2 separate regions of the Homo sapiens genome follow, and region 2 is linked to region 1. The links are contacts of gene promoters, found by promoter capture Hi-C in human tissues and cell types (Jung and others, 2019). All regions are on one chromosome and are shown on one strand. Each heading gives the region's core, a stretch centred on a gene start or on the middle of the fragment in contact. The rest is flanking DNA. Distances are from core to core; before and after follow the strand shown.

The links. The method cuts DNA at HindIII sites, captures the fragments that hold promoters and counts their contacts. A contact is called where the count stands out against the background at its distance.
Region 2: a contact is called between a fragment that was not itself captured here and the fragment with the promoter of PRPF8 in region 1, in 1 of the 25 tissues and cell types used here (H1 embryonic stem cells).

Annotation. Positions count from the first base shown.
Region 1 is chr17:1,680,821-1,687,617 of GRCh38, forward strand. It overlaps PRPF8 (pre-mRNA processing factor 8), which reads right to left and starts at 4,047. Exons shown (of 43, transcript NM_006445.4): 1 at 3,960-4,047; 2 at 3,652-3,762; 3 at 2,713-2,881; 4 at 1,309-1,473; 5 at 1,000-1,218; 6 at 658-870; 7 at 109-234; 8 at 1-11. The coding sequence starts at 3,751. The HindIII fragment of the contact is 7,907 bases long and covers 1-5,271 here.
Region 2 is chr17:1,620,363-1,627,159 of GRCh38, forward strand. The region is part of intron 2 of SLC43A2 (solute carrier family 43 member 2); the gene reads right to left. Among named protein-coding and RNA genes, the nearest start is that of SLC43A2, 5.1 kb to the right of the region's middle. RefSeq lists an enhancer at 6,645-6,797. The HindIII fragment of the contact is 4,391 bases long and covers 1,757-6,147 here.

The DNA of each region.
Region 1 (6,797 bases), core at 2,797-5,296:
GAGTATGGTACCTAAAATGAAAGGAAGAGTCAGCCAAAGTTTTCCCGCCCTGGCCCAACCTAAACAGCAGCCTTCTCCTTTCCAAATGTTGTGTTCCAGGTCTCTTACCAGGTGAGGTGGACATGGTGTGGAAGATTGTTGTACAAGTAAGGAAAAGCAATCTTGTACTCAGTGCGGATAGGCTGCCGGATGATAATCTTGTTAATATCATTGAATTCATTCCAGTCTTCATCCCTAGGGTACAACATCAAGAATAAGCAGACTTTTTTTTTTTTGAGACAGGGTCTCACTCTTATCACCCAAGCTGGAATGCAATGGCATGATCATCGTTCACTGCAGCCGTGACCTCCTGGGCTCAAACAATCCTCCCACAGCTCAGCTTCCCAAGTAACTGAGACTACACGAAGCTGTGAGTGTCACCACGCCCAGCTACATTTTTTGGTAAAGATAGGGTTTTGCCATTTTGCCCAGATTGGTCTCAAACTTCTGGGCTCAAGCAATCCTCCTGCCTCAGCTTCCCAAAGTGCTGAGATTACAGCGTGAGCCACTGCACCTGGTGTAAACAGACTAATTTGGAAGTTATATCAGGACTTTAAGGATCAAGATTACGTTTCATTCAACTCAAAATGTCTAAAATCCCTAATCTCTCCAACTCACTGTAGGTTGATGTCTCGAACAAGAGGTTCAAATTTGGGGCCTCCAGGAATGGCCATATTGAGTGCCTTGGACGTAAAGAAGGCCTTCAAATCAAACAGGTAGAAGTAGTTGTCATCCACCAAGTCTGTCAGGAGCTGATTAGCCAGGCGGTAGAGAGTCGACATCATAGGTAGTGTGAACTGCCAGCGCTGGTAAGTGGAGCCATTTACATACCTAGGTAAAAAATGAAAGGCCCACCTCAAGTAAGCAGCTAGACAAACCCATACCACCTACTGATCTCCCAGGACTCCTTCTGCATTTCCAGAACTCCTCCCAGGTGTAGTATCTCCATCTATCACTCACTTCCTGCTGTCCCTCAACGGCTGGTGGTCATAGAACCAGTCCAACACAGGGGCGTCCTCCTCAGGGTCCAGCTCTAGCTGAATGGCCTCCAGTGGCTCAACATCTAGGATGTTGTCAGCATAGTCCAAGGGCGGCTCCTCATCATCAAAAGGGGGAAAACGCATCCTCTTGAAATGCCTCCTATCTCTTTTTTCTCGGCGCATCATAATCCACATTGACCTGGAAGGCAAGACATCACACAACCATTTCTACCCACTGCCTCCCAACCACCACCACCACCACCACCCACCATATTTCAGCCTTTCTCACCCCCACTGGGAGATGTAGACAGGTTCAATGACCCAGGGAATCTCATTGACGAAGGAAATGGCTCCAGTGATGTGGTACAGCACAGGCACATCCCGAATCTGCTCCCAAGGCATAGGCATGTTCTCCAGGAGTTTGAGGACTGCGTGGGGCATGTACTTTAGGGCACTGGCACATTAGAAAAAGAGAAGGCTATCAGAAATGACGAGGTGTTCTGCTACCTGTCCCATGCAGAGAAGCCACATGTTCATGTTCCACAGTCCTACCTTACAATCCAAACTCCCAAACTTAGCCCACAGGCCCTTCCTAACCAGAAACCCTGCCTCTCCCTCTCCAACTTCACCTTGCACCACTCTTCTTAAACGTCATAATCCCACAATGCTGGTATCAGCTCCTCTAAATCAACGGCTATCCCTCTGGAGACAGCTTTGCGGCTCTCTCACATCCTATTCCCTCCGCATCTTCCCATAAATCATAATAAAGTATTCACCATACTTCACTATCACCAGTTGTCTCATGTCTGTCAGGCCACTAGACCGCACACTGCAGAAAGGCGGAGATTGTTACCCTCTGCTCGCTACTATATCCCCAGCAGCCAGCACAGTTCTCTAAGTATTTTTTGAAATAAACAAAACTTCCAGTTCATTACATGGCAAACATTTTTGTGTCCAAATAGAACAGGAATCTGCTAAGACATCTGTACCTGTACTAGCCCAGTTTAGAGCCACAGAAAAAACAGGAGTAGGGAAACCTCTGAAATTAAATACCCCAAACACAGAATTCAGGTCCCTGAGGAGCGACAGGCTGCCACTATGCACAGTATCCCACTCTGGACTTCAACCAGCTCAACCATAGGGACATCTTATTTTTCATTTTTTTTTTTTTTTTGAGACGGAGTCTCGTACTTTCGCCCAGGCCAGAGTGCAGTGGTGTGATCTCGGCTCACTACAAGTTCCGCCTCCCAGGTTCACGCCATTCTCCTGCCTCAGCCTCCCAAGTAGCTGGGACTACAGACACCTGCCACCACGCCCAGCTAATTTTGTGTATTTTTAGTAGAGACGGGGTTTCACCGTGTTAGCCAGGATGGTCTCGATCTCCTGACCTCATGATCCACCCGCCTCGGCCTCCCAAAGTGCTGGGATTACAGGCATGAGCCACCGCGCCTGGCCAGGGACATCTTATAATATCATCAACAGGACAAATTAAAGCACCAGTCCCAGATCGGGAAGAGAGGGGAAACAGACTGCAAAAGTGGAAGATGTAGAAATTATCAGAGACTCCTACTGGTTTTCTCCTTTCTCTTATATCCACCAAGATGAGCTGTCAAAGCATCAATCCAAGACTGTGGGACAGGGAGAAGGGAAAAGGGCCAAATTCCAAATGAAATTATTTCAGGATGTTCCTTACCCCAAGTAAACCCTTTTGTCATGGCGGAACTTCCTGTTGGTCATGTCTCCATGGTCTCGAATGATCTTCCTGACATGTTCTGGGGGCATGTCTTCCTTCTGGGCATCCACAAACCCAAACTTCCGCTTTTCTGCATAGCGCTTGGCCTGCAATTGCTGCCATTTTCGAGCTGGAAAGGCACCTCAGTTTAAAGGCCTGCACACCCTCCCCCTAATCCTCTTCACCTCTTGCCCTAGGGTAAGCTCCTGTCAGTGAGTGTGAGGGAGAAGCAGGCACCAGCAGGAAGAAGCACCCCTTGCCAATTCCCTTACCATTTTACTCTGTTTTTCCTTTCATCACATTGATCACTATCTGACTTTTTTTTTTTTTTTTGAGAGGTTGTTTCACTCTGTCTCCCAGGCTGGAGTGCAATGGTGCGATGTCGGCTCACTGCAACCTCCGCCTCCTGGGTTCAAGCCATTCTCCTGCCTCAGCCTCCCCAGTAGCTGGGATTATAGACACGCGCCACCACACACGACTCATTTTTGTATTTTTCGTAGAGACGAGGTTTCACTGTGTTGGCCAGGCTGGTCTCGAACTCCTGACCTCAGGTGATCCGCCCGCCTGGGCCTCCCAAAGTGCTGGGATTACAACCGTGAGCCACCGCGCCCGGCCTGACATTTTTATTACAGAGCTTCAAGGTTTTGTTATTCTCTGTCTCTCCCGCTGTAATTTAAACCCCGTAAGGACAGGAATTTTGTCTCCGTCACTACTGTACCCCCGCTGGATCAGCGCTTGCAAATAATACGCGCTTAAAATGACTTGATGAAAAATTAACTGGAAATAACAAGGGAGCTGACACCTCAGGAGCTGCCCAAACGGGGAGGGTCCCCACCCGCCTGCGCGCGCGCACACCCGCCCCGCCTCCGGCCCGCGCGCCGCTCCACACTCTCGCCTCACCTTTCTCCTGCAGCTTCTCCTCCGACATGTAGTCCGGTAGCGGGGCTAGAGGGCCAGGCACCGGGTTACCCGGCCCTCGATAAGGAAACACTCCGGCCATATCCGGAGAATCTGGGGAGCGGCGGGATAGAAAAATTCACTAACCACAGGCCCGGGCCCACAAGAAGCGCAGCAGAAAGGCGTCCGGGGACCCCGGCCTGCAGTCCCGCCACACAGTGCATCCAGCCCCGCCCGGCCTAACCCCTTCGGTCACTCGGCCCGACCCGACCACGCCTCCCGCAGCCCGGCCTTAAACGCCTGCCACGCACCCCACAGGCCCTCACACAAGAGGCCGCTTTCCCCGCAGCGCAATGGCGGCCAGACTGCGTCCGCTCCGCGTTCCCAGCGCCGGGAAGTGCGCAACCCGAGTTCAGCAGTTGATCCAGTCGGCGCCGAGGTGCTCAGATGGATTAGTGAGACGACCAATTAGAGTTGCACACTGCGCCGAGGAGGCGGGCCCATAGGCGGAAAGGCTTTGAACGCAAGGGGGTGTGGTCGGGGTGAAGCCCCGCCTCCTCCATTTCCGAGGCTGTTTCTGGGGCCTCTGACAGACCTCAGCGTGTGATGGGCTCCCGGCGTCGCACTGTGAGAGAGCGAAGTCTAAAGGGTTTGAATAAATTTGCCAAGATTGCGCATTGTACGATGTCTGTTGTCATCAATGTGTACATGCAATGCAGTACTAGCTCCTGGACAGTCATTTGTTCATGCATTCATTCATTTAACCATCACTGTCTACCGAGGACGAGGGATAAAGCAGGAAAAAAGACAACCAGTAGAGTTCACAGGGGAGCAGAAAGGCAGGCAAGAATTAAGACCTTGGCCGGGCGCGGTGGCTCACGCCTGGAATCGCAGCACTTTGGGAGGCCGAGGCAGGCGGATCACTTAAAGCCAGAAGTTCGAGGCCAGCCTGGCCAACATGGTGAAACCCCGTCTCTACTAAAAATACAAACATTAGCCGGGCGTGGTGGCGGGCGCCTGTAGTCCCAGCTACTCGGGAGGCTGAGGCAGGAGAATCGCTTGACCCGGGAGGGGGAGGTTGCAGTGAGCCAAGATCGCGCCACTGCACTCCAGCCTGGGTGACAGAGCGAGACTCTGTCTCGGGGGAAAAAAAAAAGTCTGAAATTCTGTGGAGGGTGCAGAGGAATTGTAACCCATACAGCCCCTGAATCTAGTTGAGAATTTACAAATCAAAGTGAAATAATTAGAAAAAAATTCAAAGGATGTCAATGTGCTTTCAGAACGGTAAAAATTTAAAAAATATTCCTTTTGTTTTTTTGAGACAGGGTCTCACTCTGTTGCCCAGACTGGAGTGCAATGGCGCGATCTCAATTCATCACAACCTCCACCTCCCAGGATCAAGCAATTCTCCTGCCTCAGTCTCCAGAGTAGCTGGATTACAGGCACGCGCCACTACTGCCGGCTAAGTTTTGGATTTTTAGTAGAGACAGGGTTTCACTATGTTGGCCAGGCTGGTCTCAAACTCCTGACCTTACGAAATCCTCCTGCCTCGGCCCTCCCAAAGTGCTGGGATTACAGGCGTGAGCCCCCATGCCCGGCCTGAAATCTATTTTTTAATGCTGGGTGTTCTAAAGGTCCCTACAGTCAAAAAAGACAGAGGAGAATTGTTAAAGATTTGATGGAGATGGATGGATGTGAGGATTTCATAAAGGTAAATGGAGAGGAAGGAAAAAGGTAATCCCAAGTGGTAGAACTACTAGAAAGAGTTAAGAAAGAAGCCGGGCACCGTGACTCATACCTGTAATCCTAGCACGTTGGGAGGCAGCGGCGAGAGGATTGGTTAAACTCATGAGTTTAAGACTAGCCTGGGCAACATACTGAGACCCTCATCTCTACAAATAATAAAAATATTAACCAGGCATAGTGGTACATGCCTGTAGTCCCAGCTACTCGGGAGGCTGAGGTGGGAGGATCATGATGGCACCACTGCACTCCAGCCTGGGTGACAGAGCGAGGCTGGTTTCATAGAAAAAAAGTGGGGGTTTTGGTTTGTTTTTTGTTTTTTGAGGCAGAGTCTCACTCTGTTGCCAGGCTGGAGTGCAGTGTCACAATCTCGGCTCACTGCAACCTCTGCCTCCAGGATTCAAGCGATTCTCCTGCCTCAGCCTCCTGAGTAGCTGGGGTTACAGGCATGTGCCACCACACCCGGCTAATTTTGTATTTTTCGTAGAGATGGCGTTTCTCCATGTTTGTCAGGCTGGTCTCGAACTACTGAGCTCAAGTAATCTGCCTACCTCAGCCTCGCAAATTGCTGGGATTTCAGGCGTGAGCCACCGTGCCAGGCCAAAAAAGGTTTAGATATAGAAACTAACATGGCATGCTCTGAAAATAGGCACCATATCAATCTGGCTGTGCTAGAAAGTCCAACATCATCATTATCATCTTCATCATCATCATCGTCATGGTAGTGAAGTCCTTTCACCTGTGTAAGGTTCACTACGTGCCAGACATTGCTCTAAGCCCTGGTGAAATCCTACTATGGTCTGTAGTTTCATTAAGAGTATTGTGGCCGGGCGCGGTGGTTCACGCCTGTAATCCCAGCACTTTGGGAGGCCGAGGCTGGCGGATCACAAGGTCAGGAGATCGAGACCATCCTGGCTAACACGGTGAAACCCTGTCTCTACTAAAAATACAAAAAAATTAGCCGGGCATGGTGGCACGCACCTGTGCTTCGAGCTACTTGAGAGGCTAAGGAAGGAGAATCGCTTGAACCCAGGAGGTAGAGGTTGTAGTGAGCTGAGATAGTCACTGCACTCCAGCCTGGGCAAAAGAGCAAGACTCCGTCTCAAAAAAGAAAAAAAGAGTATTGTACCAATGTCAATTTCCTGGTTTGATTGTCGCTCTATGGTTGTATAAGAAGTTCTGGGGGGTGGCCGGGCGCGGTGGTTCACGCCTGTAATCCCAGCACTTTGGGAGGCTGAGGAGGGTGGATCACGAGGTCAGGAGATCGAGACCATCCTGGCTAACACGGTGAAACCCCATCTCTACTAAAAATACAAAAAAATTAGCCGGGCATGGTGGCAGGCGCCTGTAGTCCCAGCTACTCGGGAGGCTGAGGCAGGAGAATGGTGTGAACCCGGTAGGCAGAG
Region 2 (6,797 bases), core at 2,702-5,201, 61 kb before region 1:
GTCTCCAAACACACAAACAAACAAACAAAAGTCTTAAATTGATTAGAGATCTGGTCACCCCTTTAACCACATAGGGAAGAGGCAAGGTCAGGGTAGAGGCAAGGGTATCTGTCCTTCCCATCTTTTACCCTGGAGCGACTACACACAGGGGCAGGGACCTTGCACGTAGGCCAACAGCCTTCTCGTCTTAAACAAATCCCTGCCGATGGGGCCACCAGGCCCTCTGCCCGGCCGCCTGCCTCCAGGCCGTCCCGTCCAGCAACAGAGGCGCCTGGGGCCGGGGAGGTGAGCGGCTTCTCCTTCTGCTTGTGGAGCAATTTGAGAGTCTCCCTCCTGCTGGAGGGAAGGAAGCCCTTGGTGAGCCCAGAAGCTCTGTTGACAGTAAACAGCCCACATGCACCCAGCAGATGCCCAAACAGACACACCCAGGCTGTTCCTCTCCCTCTGGTCCCACCTGGGCCACCGTGGGTCAGGAGAGAGACAAACAGATTAAGCACCCAGGAAGTGCCAAGGCGTGGGGTGGCCCTCTGCTCCCAGCCTGGAGCTTGACCCCGGGCCAGCCTGCTCTGCTCACCCCCGGCCAGGCTGCTCTGCTCCTCACCTGCACCTGTTTATTAAACAGATGCCTCCTCTGGGGTGGCCAGAAGTGGCCCAGCCCAGCCTGGCCAGAGAAGGTGAACTGAGAAGACAGGCAAGAGTTGGTGTGGCCAGTGAGTGCCAAGAACAGGAACAGGGCTGCTTAGGAGGAGACCCAGGGCCAGGGAGGACGTACACCGTTCAGCCCCACTCACAGAAGACGCACAAGATCTTTACAGAGGAATCAGGGAGAAAAGAGGGTGCTGTGGCCCCCCAGGCTCCCCTGAGGCAAAGAGGAGCCTCCCCACACCCCGGGGAGACAAAGGGAGGGGGGCCTCCAAGATGATGCTTGAGGGGGCCAAGAAGTACCTGGCTTGAGGTCCCCTCTAAATTCCTGAGCTGCCCCCTTCCCTGACTAGTCGCTTTCCGAGCCCCCCCTCCAGGGTGCGGGCCCCTGGACAGCCCACCGATGGCCCCTGCCCAGGATCTCCCGTCTCTCAAATCCTTAGTCTATCCGGCAACAGGAAGCAGCATCTCAGTCCTCAGTCCGGCAGGGGAGATGTAGGTGAGAGGTCGGCTCAGACACAGAGCAAACAACAGGCAGGAGGGCACGGACAGGCAGAGGCCGTCCTGGGCTGACCAGGGCCTGGCCCCTGAGCAGTGGTCCCAGCAGCGGCTGCCGTGTGTGCAATGAAAGTGTGTGCCAGCTGCCATGCTCAACGGGTGTGCCCACGCCCACCCCATATTCCCCACGAGGATACTGTCAGAGTGTCCCCGAGGGATGCTCAGAGCAGGTAAGTCACTTGCAGAAGGTCTCATGGGGGTCCCTGGGGAAGCTGGGCTTGACTCCAGGCTGTCAGACCCCAAAGCTCCCGCTCTTACCACTCGGTCTGTGCCGATGCTGGCCTACCTGGGCTAGAGGCTCATATCCCAGAGAGAAAATGCTGAGAGAACAGAGCCGGGAAAAGGCTGCCCATGTGCCGGCAACACCAGGAGGCCCTGAATATCGCTTGGTGGGAATGGGACTAAGACTCTCCCACGAGGTCCCTGAGAGCCAGCCTAAGCTGGACAGGACCTTCATGGACACCAGAAGCCAGGGGTGGCCAGTGGATGTCTGTGAGGGAAATGAGGTCACGAACCAAGAAGGAGGGAGGCTGGGGCGGTGGGAAGAGCCAAGGCCACCAGCTCTTCTCTGAGACGCATCCTGAGGCTGCCGGCCCCAGCCTTTAAACCTTCTTACCCATTGCTATGGAATTTTTAAAATTCCAAATAAACTGGGGGAAAAGTTTAAAAGTCATATTTATAGCAATAAAAGTGAAAGGCTGGATTTAAGAAAGCTATCCGGCTGGGCGCGGTGGCTCACGCCTGTAATCCCAGCATTGTGGGAGGCCGAGGCGGGTGGATCACGAGGTCAGGAGATCAAGACCATCGTGGCTAACACGGTGAAACCCCGTCTCTACTAAAAATACAAAAAAATTTAGCCAGGCGTGGTGGCGGGCGCCTGCAGTCCCAGCTACTGGGGAGGCTGAGGCAGGAGAATGGCGTGAACCCGGGAGGCGGAGGTTGCGGTGAGCCGAGATCGCGCCACTGCACTCCAGCCTGGGCGACAGAGCAAGACTCTGTCTCAAAAAAAAAAAAACTATCCACACTTGCCTGTGGGTGTGAGGAGAGACTCTAAAAAGAGAGGCCCTTGAGCTGGGCGCAGTGGCTCACGCCTGTAATCCCAGCACTTTGGGAGGCCAAGGCTGGTAGATCACCTGAGGTCAGGAGTTTGAGACCAGCCTGGCCAACATGGTGAAACCCTGTCTCTACTAAAAATACAAAAATTAGCCGGGTGTGGTGGTGGGCACCTGTAATCCCAGCTATTTGGGAGGCTGAGGCAGGAGAATCACTTTAACCCGGGAGATGGAGTTTGCGGTGAGCTGAGATCATGCCATTGTACTCCAGCCTGGGCGACAGAGTGAAACTCCATCTCAAAAAAATAAAATAAAATAAAATACAAATACAAATACAAAAAATTAGCCGGGTATGGTGGCAGGCGCCTGTAATCCCAGCTACTTGGGAGGCTGAGGCAGGAAAATCGCTTTAACCCGAGAGGCAGAGGTTACAGTGAGCCGAGACTGCGCCACTGCACTCCAGCCTGGGCGACAAGAGTGAAACTCCGTTCCCTCCTCCCCATCCCCCAAGAAAAGAGGTCCTCGAGGCAGCAGAGAAATCTCCTGTCCACATCTGCAGCTTCACTCAGCCCGTGGGGATCAAGCCTGGGCCTGCTTCCCCAAGGTGGGCGGCAGCCCCTCTGCCCTTGCAGCGATCTCTGTGCCAGGGCGAGCTCGCAGGGACCTCTGTGCCAGGGTGAGAGGCTCTCTCCCACCACCACAGGTGGAGAAACTGCAGAGGTCAAGAGCATACAACTGGGGTCGGCCTTCATGCCCATGGTCAGACTGTGGGTGACTTCCTCAGGCAGAGGCCGTGATGACTTCTGGTTTCTATGCCACCCAAACATACCAGCATGTGGCAAGCCCTCAGCAATTCACACAAGCCTCTAACAGGGGAATTGGATGGTCGCCCTCCTCTATCTCCCTGGCTTCCTCCTGTCTTGGGAATAAAATTCAGTTTCCCCGAATGGCCTCCCAGTCCCTGCAGCCCCCGCCCCTTCCCACTTCTCTCCTCTCCTCCAGGGTGTACCCTCCTCTCCTCCAGGCTGTACCCTCCTCTCCTCCAGGGCGTACCCTCCTCTCCTCCAGGGCGTATCCTCCTCTCCTCCAGGCTGTACCCTCCTCTCCTCCAGGCTGTACCCTCCTCTCCTCCAGGCTGTACCCTCCTCTCCTCCAGGCTGTACCCTCCTCTCCTCCAGGCTGTACCCTCCTCTCCTCCAGGGTGTACCCTCCTCTCCTCCAGGCTGTACCCTCCTCTCCTCCAGGGTGTACCCTCCTCTCCTCCAGGGTGTACCCTCCTCTCCTGAATCACCCCTCCTCAACCTCCAGGCTTCCACCTGAACCGCAGAGAGGCCCTCCCACCCAGCAGGAGCCACATCTCCGCTGCTGTTCTAGCTCCTGGCGCCCTGCTTTCTTGGGGGCCCGACCACCCCCTGGAATTATACGGGTTACACAGGTATGCGTGTGATGACTTGTTTCCTCTGCACCCAGCACGGCACCTTCGTCAATGTTTACTGAATGTTTAGGTTACAAGAAAGAGGGGATTAACGATCCACATGTAGGCCTGGAGCGGTGGCTCACGCCTATAATCCCAGCAATGTGGGAGCCCGAGGTGGGTGGATCGACTGAGCCCAGGAGTTCAAGACCAGCCTGGGCAACATGGTGAAACCCCTATCTCTACAAAACATTTAAAAATTAACTGGGTATGGTGGCTTACACCTGTAGTCCCAGCACTTTGGGAGGCTGAGGCTGGTGGATCACTTGAGCCCAGGAGTTTTGAGACCAGCCTGAGCAACGTGATGAAACCCTCATCTCTACAAAAAATTTGACCGGGCGTGGTGGCTCACACCTGTAATCCCAGTGCTTTGGGAGGCCAAGGCGGGTGGATCACCTGAGGTCAGGAGTTCGAGACCAGCCAGGCCAACATGGTAAAACCACATCTCTACTAAAAAATACAAAAATTAGCCGGGCGTGGTGGTGGGCACCTGTAATCCCAAAAACAAAAACAAAAAACTAACTGGGTTTGATGGCTCATGCTTGCAGGCCCAGCACTTTGGAAGGCTGAGGCAGGAGGATCGCTTGAGCCCAGGAGTTTGAGACCAGCCTAGGCAACATGGCGAGACCCTGTCTCTACAAAAAATACAAAAATTAGCTGAGTATGGTGGCGCACACTTGTAGTCCCAGCTACTGCTACTCGGGAGGCTGAGGCGGGAGGATTGCTTGAGCCCAGGAGTCAAGGCCGCAGTGAGCTGTGATTGCAACACTACATTCCAGACTGGGCAACAGAGCGAGACCCTGTCTCAAATAAAAAAAAACCATCCACAGGTAGCCGCAGCCCCCCAGGCTGACCCTGACCCTGTTGAAGCGGGGGCCACTGGACAACAGAGAAAACGAAGAAAGAGCTCAGGAGTGGGCCGTCACGTTGCCATCCCAGAGGCCAAGAGGACACAGCTCCAGGAAGCCCCGTGCTTCTCGGGCTGAGAACCCAACTGGTCTCCTGCCCTCACCAGGGGGACGAGGGAGGCATCCAGCAGCCAACACCTGGAGGACGTTGTGCAAAACCCATTGCCAACTTCCCGCACCCAGGTCCCCAAACCCAGCCTGCCACGTCTCCCAGCAGGCAAGGAAGAACAAACTGCGGGGCAGCCGAGAAATGAGCTGTTTCCTTCCTTCTGCCACCTCACCAGGCTGGAACCCAACACGGTGTCTGTGGCGAGATTCTGGCTGGAGTCGTAAGAAAGAGTTCTAAGAACCTTTCAACAGGTTCAGGCAAATTTTCTTTAGAGAACAAACTAAAGCATCGTCCTAGAGTGACACGAAGCTGACAAATTTGCATCTCAATCAGCCGGACACTGCTCAGGCTTTCACAAGTCTAATTCAATAAATTCAAAAATGGCCTATCTGCTTCTCTGCAATTCAGCCATGCACCAAGTTTGAAAATGTTAGACTGAAGCAGAAACCTTCACCCTAACTTCGCCAGGCACTCCCAGACGAGCCAAATGCGGGGATTTCTGGCCTGAAAGAAAACTGGTGATGCAGACTCCAAGAATCAAGGAGCAGTGTGACCAGAGAGATAAGCTGTGTGGAATCAGCAGCCTTCCCGCCCAGAACGTGGGCTCAGCATGTTTGCCAGATAATAAGAAAAACCAAAATTGGAGGCAGGAGCAAAAGTTCGGGATAAGAAGTTGATGTTCAACCCACAATCCTGACCCTTCACCTTCACTTTGGTTTAGTGGAGTTACCTGTCAAGTCTGCCCAGGGCTTAAAACACCAACTCAGCACTGCGCTGGCACAATCTCTGGGACTCCTCCCACTTAGACAGAGGAGGAAGCTGAGGTTGAGGCAGGAATGAAAGGACCAGACCCAATTCTGCCAAAACCATACAATCAATTAAATCCGTGGACATTCTATTAAAAAAAAACAAAAAACAAAAAACAAACAAAAAACACCTAGAATCTGACCTTCCGACATCATGGTGGGTTAAAAAAAAAACACACAAAAAAACACCTGCCCACAACAGTTCTCTGGTCTGGGTGAGACACTAAAAGCTTTCTCTGGGGACGATGACTTTTTTTCTGCTTTTTTTTTTTTTTTTTAAACCCTGTGTCCAGCCTGAAAGAGCCCACCAGGGAGGCAAGCAGGAAGGGTCACGATCTCTAAGGGGGGAGAGAGGAAAGGAGAGGAAGAAGTAAACACTCCAACCTGTGCCTTTCGGGGACAGGCATTAATCTCCTAACAACTCTTGGCCAAAGCAGAAAGCTTGTTCAGGGAACAAGGTCTGACTCTTCCCAACTCCCAAGATTTCTTGCTGATGTGGGGAAAGACCTGCCAAGAACCCTTAGGCTATTAGGAAATATTTTTGAGTGGCTAAAGGCTAAAGGTTAGTTATAAATGATATACTTTCTGTCCTCTCCCCGCGGCCTCTGCATTCTCCTGCTTTCTCCTGCCCTGAACCTCTCCAGCTAAGCCTCCCTCCCTAGAGACTGGGACACACAGGAATCTCCGGGGCAGATCAGAGAAGGGAAACAGGGAGGCTTCCACAAAGGATTACACCCAGCATGAGCTGGTCCAAAGCTTTCTCTTCCTGCAAAGAGCTCTAGAAAGAAAAGGCCTGCTGCTGGGGATTCAGGAAGTCAAACCTGGGCTACCTCCATCTAAGGGCACTCTAGCACTGGCGACAGGGATTATGTGAGCTCAGCTATTATGCAGCTACCGTTGGGATCAAGGAGAAGGCAGAGGGAAAATTTCCTGTCAAGGTTGCCTAAGAAGGAGGGTAGGAGGCTAGAGGCTGGGGGCTGCTGTGGCCCTCCTGTGGGGCTGAATTTACTGCCCTGTAGTCATCAGGACCCTCCAACAGGGTATGAAGGTGTGAAGGTAAGTGTGTGTTGGGTGGTGCAGATGTCATGTAGAGAAGCATCCTCAGCCTGCCTTCAGCAATTCCAGTGACAAGGCAAAGAGGAGAGAACAACCCTAGCATCATTTCCATAAACGTTCCTTTCTTCTCTTCCCCTTCATCCCCATGGGGTTGGAAAGCCACGGAGATGTCCTCAGAGCCCGTGGGGGAAA